2 separate regions of the Homo sapiens genome follow, and region 1 is linked to region 2. Evidence: promoter capture Hi-C in 16 types of primary human blood cells and fetal thymus (Javierre and others, 2016). All regions are on one chromosome and are shown on one strand. Each heading gives the region's core, a stretch centred on a gene start or on the middle of the fragment in contact. The rest is flanking DNA. Distances are from core to core; before and after follow the strand shown.

Region 1 (5,627 bases), core at 1,991-4,490, 8.0 Mb before region 2:
TTTGGGAGACTGAGGAGGGCGGACCACAGGTGAAGAGATTGAGACCATCCTGGCCAACATCGTGAAACCCCATCTCTACTAAAAATACAAAATTTAGCTGGGCTTGGTGGCATGTGCCTGTAATCCCAGCTACTCAGGAGGCTGGGGCAGGAGAATCGCTTGAACCCAGGAGGTGGAGGTTGCAGTGAGCTGAGATTGTGCCACTGCACTCCAGCCTGGCAACAGAGTGAGAGTCCATTTCAAAGAAAAAAAAAAATGTTCATGCCAAAATTTGCCTGTAGCCACTGGTGGCTAGAAAAGTTTACCATTTCTTACAGAAAAGGAATTAGTGATTGAAAATAATTACACCTGTGTTATACATATTATAATTCATTATACCTATTCCTCAAACTGTTGGTATATTGGTGATACAGAAAAAATTCCTGTCCATAATAGCAAGTCAGGCAAAGCTTCATAAGAGTTAAGGGTTCTTCTTATGATGGATGTCCCAATTACCCTGATTTGATCATTACACATTGTATACATGTATCAAAACATCACCATATGCCCCATAACAAGTACAACTAAGATATGTCAATTAAAAAATAGAAAAAAAATCCAATTAAGGCTTATAATCACCAAATTGCCTTATGAATTTTTCTTATAGTTTTTTTGAATGAAAATCCAAAAAGTCCATTTGCAAAGTAGCAACTGAAAAAAACAAAATAAAACAAAAACTTTATTTTGTGGACCAACATAAGAAATGCAGGTTTCAAAAACTTTTATATAAGATTAAATACAGCATGAGCACATTACTATACAGAGCCTCTGAATTGCTAAAATGACTAAATAAAAAATTTAAATATCAGCATGACAAGATTCTAGTACTTTTAGAAAACATAAATTGAAATGTAATTTCAGTGCATGATGCTCATTTTTATAAAACTCACCTTGTCTAGATTTATGATCATATAGTTTGGATAATCTTCCACTAAAGAGACAATCATATGTGATGCACTATGGAAAAAAAGTATATCTTGTTAGTGAAAAACTTTAACTTCCCTAAACTCTTGAATATTTTCCTAAGGTGTTGAGTACTAGGAAAATACTCAAAGATAACTTTAATTTTTTCTAAGATAACAGAAAACATAACTACACTAAATATACACACATGCAAACTTTTTACCAAACTTCTCAACAGTATCTATAAACAAAAGTTTTACATTCCATTTAGACTATGCAGAAGAGAGAATGTACTGGTTCTGGGTATAGGGAAAAAAGTCAGTTTAACCAAACGATGCCATCCATACAGGTACAAGTATCGAGTAAAGTGGAACAATAAATGGGAGCTAGTCAGCACAACTGTACATGCCTATAGCATGCCTTTTCAGGAACTGCAGATATAAGTATGTAAAAATGAAATTACTATGAGTATAGTCAGTTGTCTATATTTAATAGTAACTTCTGCAATTGCTATTTCTTGGTATAAGATTTTGGTAATGTTAAACCAGAATCCTCAGGAGGCTTCTAGACTAAACCCAGGATTCCCAGGCTAATAACAGCTGAAACCATTCTGAGTTGGATATCCACAGTGGGTCCTGGGCTTCAGAGGACCCTAAAGGGGAATCACAGGCATATCTCAGTGAAATGATCTACCAGATTTACCATGTATACTTAAAATGTTGGGCTCCCAGGAGAGGGGAGCCCTTGACCAAATTATGAACTTGAAGTTTGTATTCGGCATTCCTTTCACAGCACTTTCTAAGTCGCACCCTTCCTGGACCCGCACTCTCACACAAGTATCACCCTTTCATGTCCATAGTCCTCTTTCTCATTAAGTGAAACTTGCCAGCCTGATGCTCTCCCCCAAATGACTTGTCGGATTAGAAGGGGTGATTTAATGTGCAAATGGCCATAAACAGGAATCCTCACATTCCCACTTCTTCCACTAGCCACTGAGTTCCTTGAGGGGAGGATAGGAGAGTTTCCTGTTTATTACTCTTGCATTCATCCATTCCACAATTACTAAAGACTTATATAGAATGGGCCAGGCATTCTTCCAGGTGCTGAATGAACAGTAGTCTCTGTCCTTACCGAGTTTGCATTTTAGAGTGGGGATACAAGCAATAAACAAGCAGACACAAATCCGCAATATAATTTCAGGTAGAGGTTAAGTGTGCTAGTTGGGAGAGGGGCTATTTTAGATATGGTGGTCAGGTAAGAACTCTCTGAGGTGCTATCTGAATAAAAACCAGAATTGAGTGGTGCAAACAGCCTAAGGAAAGGGGAAGCAAGTGCAAAGGCCTCAAGACAGAAGTGTGTATCTTGGTGTGTTCCAAGAACTAAGAGGGGAAGCATGGCAGGTACAGAAAAGCAGATCAGGTTGCAAAAGTAGGGCTTGGGCACTTGAGTTTTCTAGATATGGTAGAGTTTGGGCTTTATTCTTAAGTGTGGCAGGAACCACTGAAGTAAAATCCTGCTTCTACCATGATCTGATTGACTTAAGAAACACTGACTTGTATGTGAGCAACAGGCTTTAAAGGAACATGAGTGGACGCAGTTATGGCCAACCAAGAGGCTACAGCAGCAGTCGAGGCAAAAGATGACAGTAAACATGGGCTAGGGTGGAAACGGGAAACTGGTGAGAAGTGGTCGCCGTAAGGATATACTTTGGAAGTAGAGAGGACTTGCTGCTCGAATGTGGGTCTGAGGAAGAAAAGGGTGTCAACAGTGGATTTGTAAAAGTTTGCTGATTACATAGATGTCCTATTATAGTCCTTAAATCGTTTTGGGGGTGCCTATATGTACAGGGCCCATCGTGGGGTGTGGGTGCTCTAGGCTGGAGGTGGGAAGCAGTCGGTGAGCAGCTTAGGGTAACTTGCACGCACTCAAGGAGTGACATGGTGAGCACCTCCGGCCACAGAAGGGCGGAGAGTAACGCAGCTTTGGAAGAGGCGTTTTAAAGAAGTCAGTTTCAAAGGAACCACTTCTTTGCAGGCCAGAGAGAGAAAAGCTGGTCCAGGTCGTGCATTAGGACCCTCCCCATATCAGAATAAGGACCCCTCAAAGCTGGACCCAAATTACCTAGGGCAAGCAGAGCTGCGGGAAAAGGTAGGGGTTTCTGGGGAGCCACTGCTTGGCTAGCGGCGCCATTACCTACATGAAACCAGCACCGCCGGTCACCAGGACCCGCTTCGCAAAGCCGCCGGGAAGACCCCACGGTTCCTCCCAACACGCCGCCGACATCTCCCAGCTCAGCAGTGCCTAGTACCGTAAAGAGTATGGTCTGAAAAGCGCAGGGAAGTTCCGCCGCGACCTTTTGCGACGCGCCTCGCTCGCGGGACACGTTAACAGAGCAGCCAGAGGCAGCTTCCGGAGACTGCTCTGTGGCCAGTTTCTGCCCGCCCACTAGCGGGCTGGGCGGGGCCGCGCTCACCACGCGCAGGCGCTGCTCCTTTCCGCCCTTGCCTGGTCCGCCAGGTGCAATTGGGGTCGCCCGGATGGTAGGGGTATGGAACGTTTTTCCCGGAAATGCCACCACTATGGATCAGATTTATGAATGAGTACCTTTTTTCATTCTTGTACTACAGCCATCTCTAGAGGTTACCTATCAGTTGAGCTGAGAACGGGGAGTTGTTGCAGATGGAGATGGGAGGTTGCAATTTAAAAATGATTTTTTTTTTTAGTGGGGCGGGGACAGGGTCTCCCTCTGTTACCCAGGCTGGAGTGCAGTGGTGCGATCACGGCTCACTGCAGCGTCGACCAATGGGGCTCAAGCAATCCTCCCACCTCAGCCTCCTGAGTAGCTAGGAATACAGTCGTGCGCCACCACGCCCGCCTAATTTTTGGTAGAGATGGGTTTCGCCCTGTTGTCCAGGCTGGTCTCGAACTCCTGGGATCTAGCCAACCTCCCGCCTCAGCCTCCCAAGGTCCTGGGATTACAGGCGTGAGCACCGTGCCTGGCCTGCAAAATGATCTTTTGCTGTTGTTAATATTATTTCAGGCCGGGCGCCGTGGCTTACGCCTGTAATCCCAGGACTTTGGGAGGCCGAGGTGGGCGGATCACCTGAGGTCAGGATTCGAGACCAGCTTGGCCAACATGGTGAAACCCTGTCTCTACTAAAAATACAAAAATTAGCCGGGCGTGGTGGCGGGCGCCTGTAATCCCAGCTACTTGGGAGGCCGAGGCAGGAGAATTGCTTGAACCCGGAAGGCAGAGGTTGCAGTGAGCCGAGACCGCACCATCGCACTCCAGCCTGGGCAACAACAGCAAAACTCCGTCTCAAAAAATAATAATATTATTATTACAGACAGCGCAGAAGGCTTGCAATCATGATAAAGATATTCCCTAGGTCCTACGCTGATGTCTTATTCTATTCTCTCCTTTGCTCACTCCGCCCCAGCCTCCCCACCCTCCTTGCTCTTCATTCAATGTGCCAGGCATGCTACTTCCCCGGGACCTTGATTGTCTTTCCCCAGATGTCTGCCTAGTTTTTACCCTTACTTCCGTTTTCAGCTTGAATGGCATCCTATTGACCACCACAATTAAAATAGCGAGCTCTGCCCAACCCTGCCGAATCATCTTATCCTTCTTTATTTTTCTTCCTAGCACTCAACATTTACATTGATGTCACTGCCCTCTGTTTAGTGTTCCATGAGGTCAGGGGCTTTGTTTTGTTTTCTGCTGTAATCGCATGTCCTTAGAGACTTGGCACAGAATAAATGACCATTAAATATTGTCGAATAGATAAATATCTTTTTTTCCCCACCATAATGTTTGGCAAAGCTGAAAACGAATGGAAACATCCAGTACAGGTGTATATGTGGAAGAATCATACCACAACCTTTTTACAAGGCAAAGTGGTAAAACATATGAAAATTTCAAATGTTCATATTCTATGACCCCCTCAAATTCCATGATGTATAATATAGATAATTGTTCATTGCTGTATTGCTTGCAATAATGAAACACTGGAAATAATCTAAATGTGTATAATGTCTTCTAACTTTTAAAATGCAGTAAACTGCTATATAGCCTTTAAAAAGAATATACCAACATGGAATGAAGACCAAAATATATTGCAGTCGATACGTACAGTTTTTTTCTGACCAGACTCCTCCCCCCACTGTCCTTTATGATCTCCCCAAGTTGACCCAGGCAGGCCACAGAATGAAATCTGGCTGACTCTAGGCCAACTGAAGCCTCTTCTTGGGATTTAGAATTCGACTAAGGTGCTAGTATAGTCTGGTTACTCTACTTGAACTCTGAGGTCCTACAAAGCTGGAACTTTTTGGTGGCCATGTTCTTTCAAAGTGAGGAGCCAGAAAGCCTGTCTTCACAGTGAGAAAAACAAAGTTGATTGAGAAGAAAGAAAAGATAGGAAAGGCCTAACATTCAAGGCCTGTGTTATGATTTCTCTTCAGGACCAGTTTTATTCCTGTCCTTGGTTTACAAATACCACATATATTTGTGGTATTTGTAATACCACATATATTTGTGGTATTTGTGGCTTACTTGAAAGGATTGACCCTAAACTCTTAAAATAAGTTACCTTTAGGGATGAGATATGGGCAGGGAAAGGAGGAAATGGGGAGTTTAATTTTTACTTTATATACTTTTGTTTTTTTGAGACAGTCTCGCTCTGTTG
Region 2 (5,579 bases), core at 2,626-5,125:
AGTTTCGATGAAATCAATTTCCAGATGCCTGAAGTCAACCACTTTTTTCTAAGCTTATCTGCCTGGCAGCGTGCCTGTGGCGGAAAGACATGATTCTCTTTTGCACCTATTTCAGTGCTGGGTCTCCCACCTTTTAGGGAAAAGGAACACATCCCGAATCTTACTATTATGCACCACCTGCAGGTGTAATAGCCTCTGGGGCATCAAATAACGGGACAATTTGAAATACTATCACTAAAACTTTATTTAATATCAAAGTTCAATAACCAATCCTATCCATCTTTTTTTAAAATCAAGAACAATTTTTGTTAAGACCACAATTAGCAAAAAAAAGTTACAGCATTTTTGAAACATTCCACAATCTATTATGAGGAACAAGGGCTAGGGAACAAACACCAAAGCATAACAGCATATGCTCTGCTGTGTGTTATGTTAAACCACTTTTCATTTGTCTCATTAAATCCATCTTTTCTACAATTTAAGCAAAGGTTATAGAGCAAAAGATGACATTTGTCATATGAGTGATTCTTAAAATGGGAGCTTCAACGTACGTCTGAATTTTGTTCACATTACTTTCTGGGCATATTATGTAATACTTATATATCCTGGTTTCGCTTCTTAAGAATTGATGATTCAATTTTACAAGAGACACAGACATACAAATCTTATCCTTTTAACTAGTCCTGTCATTAACAGAAGCATGACTTATTTATACCAAGCATCTTTTTAAGAGCTCTATTTTCAATAAAAATTTTTTTGTCCTGTAATTTTTAATCAAAGCTTAAGACTTACTCATGTTGTTGTAATCAACTTTGTAATAACTGAAAGATAACCCAAAAGAATAAGTTTAACATTTTTCTTCCAGGAAAATTTTTAAAATTAATATATTTTTATTGCAGATGATGATACATTATCAATATGCCTTTCCATTATAAATGCAAATTACAATGAGAAAAAATTCCATATAGAATGGAAATAAAGTTTCCAGAAGAAATAGTGATATAAAATGTCTGCTTTTAAGTGTTCAGATATTTTATAAATAGTTGATGGTAGCTATCAGAGTTACACTCAACTGGGTATATTTACATGAGAAACGTGAAAGTTTCATTAAATAATGACGATATTTATACTATGCCAGAAATTACATCCTTTATAATTTTTAAAATTTATGATAGGCCGGGCGCAGTGATTCACGCTTGTAATGCCAGCACTTTGGGGGGCCGAGGCGGGTGGATCACCTGAGGTCGGGAGTTCGAGACCAGTCTGACATCAACATGGAGAAACCCCGTATCTATTTAAAAAAATACAAACATTAGCTGGGTGTGGTGGCACATGCCTGTAATCCCAGCTACTTGGGAGGCTGAGGCAGGAGAATCACTTGAACCCCGGGAGGTGGAGGTTGCAGTGAGCCGAGATCCCGCCATTGCACTCCAGCCTGGGCAAGAAGAGCAAAACTCCATCTCAAAAAAAAAAAAAAAAATTGTGACAAATTTAGACTTCATTTTACAGCTGTACAAAGGGATACATAACTTTTTTAAAAACATGTTTATGGGATATGTAAGCAAAAAAAGAAAAATCTGGCCGGGTGCAGTGGCTGATGCCTGTAATCTGAGCACCTTGGGAGGCCGAGGTGGGTGGATCCCCTAAGGTCAGGAGTTCAAGACCAGCCTGGCCAACATGGCGAAACCCCGTCTCTACTAAAAATACAAAAACTAGCCAGGTGTGGTGGCATGCACCTGTAATCCCAGCTACTCGGGAGGCTGAGGCAGGAGAACTGCTTGAACCCGGGAGGCGGAGGTTACAGTTACCCGAGATTGTGACATTGCACTCCAGCCTGGGCCACAGAGTGAGACTCTGTGTCAAAAAAGAAAAAGAAAAGGAAAGGAAAAGAAAAATCTAAAGAACATTGTTACGGCAGTCTAATAAAAAGTCTGCCACCTAGGTTTCATAATAAACTGTTCATTCCCCATTTATTCATTGGGTGATACTCTGGCAAAGTCATGCACATGGTGTGGTAGAACATACTGGGGAGAGATTGTGAGAAGACAAATCCCGTGTTTTCATCAACCTGTTTTGTAATCCATGACAGTCAGTTAACTTTGTTTCTTCATCTATAAAATGAAGTGATTGGACTATGGTTCACTTGAAACTGGGAGCCATTCTGTTCTATCACTATAAGCTCTATACTGAATGTCTTCTGCGAGTTTGTTATTCTGTTTTCGTCTGTGTTAATTTGAAATTCTTTTCTAGAGGTAATGTAAACAGTTGGGAATAAGAAGAAAAACATTCAACTTTTCTTTTTCCTCTGCACTAAAGAGAACATGCTTGTGTAAGACTTATGGACTGAATAAATGATCAAGGAATCAGCTGAAACCATTGCACAGCCATAAGAATAATTTTTGAGACTTAATGGAGGATCTCTGAAATTCTGTGGGTTGGAAACCGCATGCATAAGGCTTTCCTTTATACCAGGTATTCTTAACTTGGTGTCCATAGACAGAATCCAAGGGGTTCAAAAACTTCCGTAGAAAAAAGATACAAACCTCTTAATTTTTTTCACATCAAGTATGAATGTAGGCAAAAACCAGGGTAGTTATGCTGTTATGTCACCAATAAAAATCAGTTCATCGTAGTGCAGTTTTCACCGCTATCTCCAAATAATTATATTCTTCACTATTTTGAAGTTATGGTAGTTTATTAGCCTTGGCCCTAGCTCCTGTTATTTAATGCAAAAGAAGTACACCTGTAACTATACACACACACGTAAAGCTCCTGCTATATAACAAAATTGCCTTTAGTATTTTTGATAACTGCATTTAAACATAATTTATTTCCTGGGTAATCCTATCTATTTCATTGTATGCATTTTAAAACACTGCTTGAGAAATAGGCCTCACCAGATTGCCAAAGGGGTCTTCGGCACAATAAAAGGCTAAGATTACCCTGGCATGAGCATAGACATAAAGATCATTAGAGGACCACTATGCAGCTTGCAGCAACTGACGGCAGGCACTGTGAATCTGGAAAACTGAAAATTATGGCTCTATAATTGAGTGGACAGCCGTAAGGAGCAATCAGAAACTTCAGTGTAAGAGGAAAAAAAAAGATGTTTTTCAGAAATCCCGGAAGCTAAGGATCAGCAGAGGATAGGAGGGGCCCATTTCAGTCTCGTGCTTTGTTACTGGCTACAAAGGCGACGGAATGACCAACAACCCACTTCCTGTTGACTGAAACTATTGCCTGTCTCCACCCTATTGCTCCCCCTCACCACCTCACCCCCATCAAAGGGGCATAACAACACAGGGGAACCCAAAGTCTACACCCCTTAACCTACGACCTTCCAAAATCATGTCCGGAGCTTTCGCCGACACCGCAGACTCCTTAGCGGCTAAGCGTGAGTGCGCCGGCTCCCTTGCCTCGGGTCAGCAGCACCCCGGGGCTGGGGCTCCTGCAGCAGCCGCACCAAAAAGTTTCATCCACAACCTTAAGTTTGGAAACTATCGTTTGCCAAGCGAAGGGTTCCCATTATTCCTGGCTGGCGGTCCATCTCCTTGCCCGTCTCTCGGGGAGTGATTCGGTCCGGGACACCAGGACTCTGCTTGGAGGCCTGCTGTTGCCTAAAAACCCCAAGCGCGGGCCTCTTCAAGGCCCCAGGTTCGAGATCCGAACCCTCCAGTAATGTCCTCAGACTCCTCCCCCTTCACTGCAGCCCGGGCAATACTCGGGCCTAGCTCCTGAGAGCGGCGCCGTTGGCTTACGTAGCAGCACGTGATTGGCCACCGCTCCCTGGCAGGCCGGGATTGGTGGAAGACGGGCCGACCCCGCCCCTCGCCCCCGCCTCCGGCCCGAGGCCGCACGGGTGTCCTCGCGCTGCTAGTCCGCGCGCAGCCTGGCAGTTTGCCGCTTCCTCGTCCTCCATCCTGCGTCCATGGCCACCGCTGCGACTGAGGAGCCCTTCCCTTTTCACGGTCTCCTGCCGAAGAAGGAGACCGGAGCCGCCTCCTTCCTCTGCCGCTACCCGGAGTATGATGGGCGGGGGGTGCTCATCGCAGTCCTGGACACGGGGGTCGACCCGGGGGCTCCGGGCATGCAGGTGAGGCGGCCCCCGAGGGCCCGGGCGCGGGGGCGCGGGCGGCCGGGGACGCGGGTGGGGACACAGTCTCGGAGCCCGGCAGGCCAAAGCCCCGCTCTGCGGCCGAGTCCGGGCCGGGGTGGGCAGCACCGGGGTGGGCAGAGGTCAGAGCCAGGCGCGGGAGGGACGGGCGCCCGCCAAGGGGACTCAACGGCGCACAGTGCCAGGGTCGCTGGGCGGGCGAGGGCCCGGACCCCAGGTTGGGCCGTGGTCCCCCCAGCTCAACAAAAGCAGCGTGCCCGGCGCGGCTGCCTGGGGAAGCCTGGGTCCCCCTTTGGCCCCAGGGACTCCCCTTCCTTCTCGCTTCGGCGCTGCCAGGCCGGACCCCCCAGGCTCCTTCCCTCCACGCCGCCTTCCTCTGCCTACCCCTCGTGCCTCGGACACCGGTCCCAGCCTGACGTTTTTAAAGAGAATTTTACAGCTTTTATCATTGGGGTGGGGTGGAGACACCAGATAGGCAACTGACATGTGAGAACTTAATGTTTAGGGATCGGGAGATTTGGTTTGGGGAAGAATAGTTTGTCTTTAAGCACGAAAGCTGGGTTTCCAGAAGATAACCCAGTCCTCTTCCGGAATTGTTTCCTGTGGTAGTTTTGTGTATTCTATTTTTAAACGGTCTTCTGCAGCGTGTTTGCTTAGGGTCATTGAATCTTGTGGCTTAGTCTTCGTTTACATAAGGAGAATTCAGTTAGGTTTGGTTTTGGCGAGCTTCTCAGACCTTATGAAAATATGCGACTTTTTTTTTTTTAAACCTGAAAACATACGACGGTTTTTAAAAATTACTTAGTTTTTTGCCTTAGGCAACTTTAAAATCTGTAGATTCAAGGTATCATACCAGAAGGTAGTTTTTTTGAAAGTATGTTGTCTCTCGTTAAAAGCATTCTGTTTAAAGTCTTTAAAGTTTAACTTTTGTACTTTTAACCCTTTACTGAAATCCAGTAATAAAATTTCACCGTTATTCAAGATCCATCTCCCAGCATCCCTGACTAATCCTACTGTATGCTGATCTCTCGTTGATCAGCCCCTGGCTATCTTATCCTCCTTTCTACACTAAACACTCATCCTCCTCCCCACAATGTCCCTTCCCTTCTGGATCCTTTATCGTGCTTTCTGATTATTGAGGTAGCATTTTGGAAGTAACGAGGGGGAGTCTGGCCGAATCTGCTTAGAAACCCCTGGGAATCTTGATTCCTGGTGTGTGTTCTTCAGCACCACTCTGGAGTACAGCACATCTTTTGTGAATCAGAAGAGGATCAGGTACTGAATTCCCTCCCGGTAACTGGAGTTATATAGTTGTCGTTGTATTAATAACTTAAAGACTTAGAACAATGACAGCTATCAACTCATTTGGGGCTTTATTACAAAGTAATAATGCTTTTCATTCAGCTGTGGAGTGTGTTTACTTTTTATAGGATGAGTGGGAGGAAAACAGCTGGGATAAGTGGTT

What was found. Contacts are between HindIII fragments. The CHiCAGO score rates a contact against its expected background, and 5 or more counts as called.
Region 1: the fragment with the promoter of TGDS here is called in contact with the fragment with the promoter of TPP2 in region 2 in 1 of 17 cell types (total CD4 T cells); the score reaches 6.2 in total CD4 T cells.

Annotation. Positions count from the first base shown.
Region 1 is chr13:94,592,912-94,598,538 of GRCh38, forward strand. TGDS (TDP-glucose 4,6-dehydratase) reads right to left here and starts at 3,241. Exons shown (of 12, transcript NM_014305.4): 1 at 3,140-3,241; 2 at 930-996. The coding sequence starts at 3,225. RefSeq lists an enhancer at 3,105-3,414. The HindIII fragment of the contact is 5,991 bases long and covers 448-5,627 here.
Region 2 is chr13:102,593,111-102,598,689 of GRCh38, forward strand. It overlaps TPP2 (tripeptidyl peptidase 2), which reads left to right and starts at 3,876. Exons shown (of 30, transcript NM_001330588.2): 1 at 3,876-4,093. The coding sequence starts at 3,929. It overlaps LOC107984588 (a long non-coding RNA gene), which reads right to left and starts at 3,832. Exons shown (of 2, transcript XR_001749984.3): 1 at 3,338-3,832; 2 at 227-1,291. RefSeq lists enhancers at 3,310-3,469, 3,520-3,579 and silencers at 3,650-3,939, 4,100-4,389. The HindIII fragment of the contact is 7,622 bases long and covers 779-5,579 here.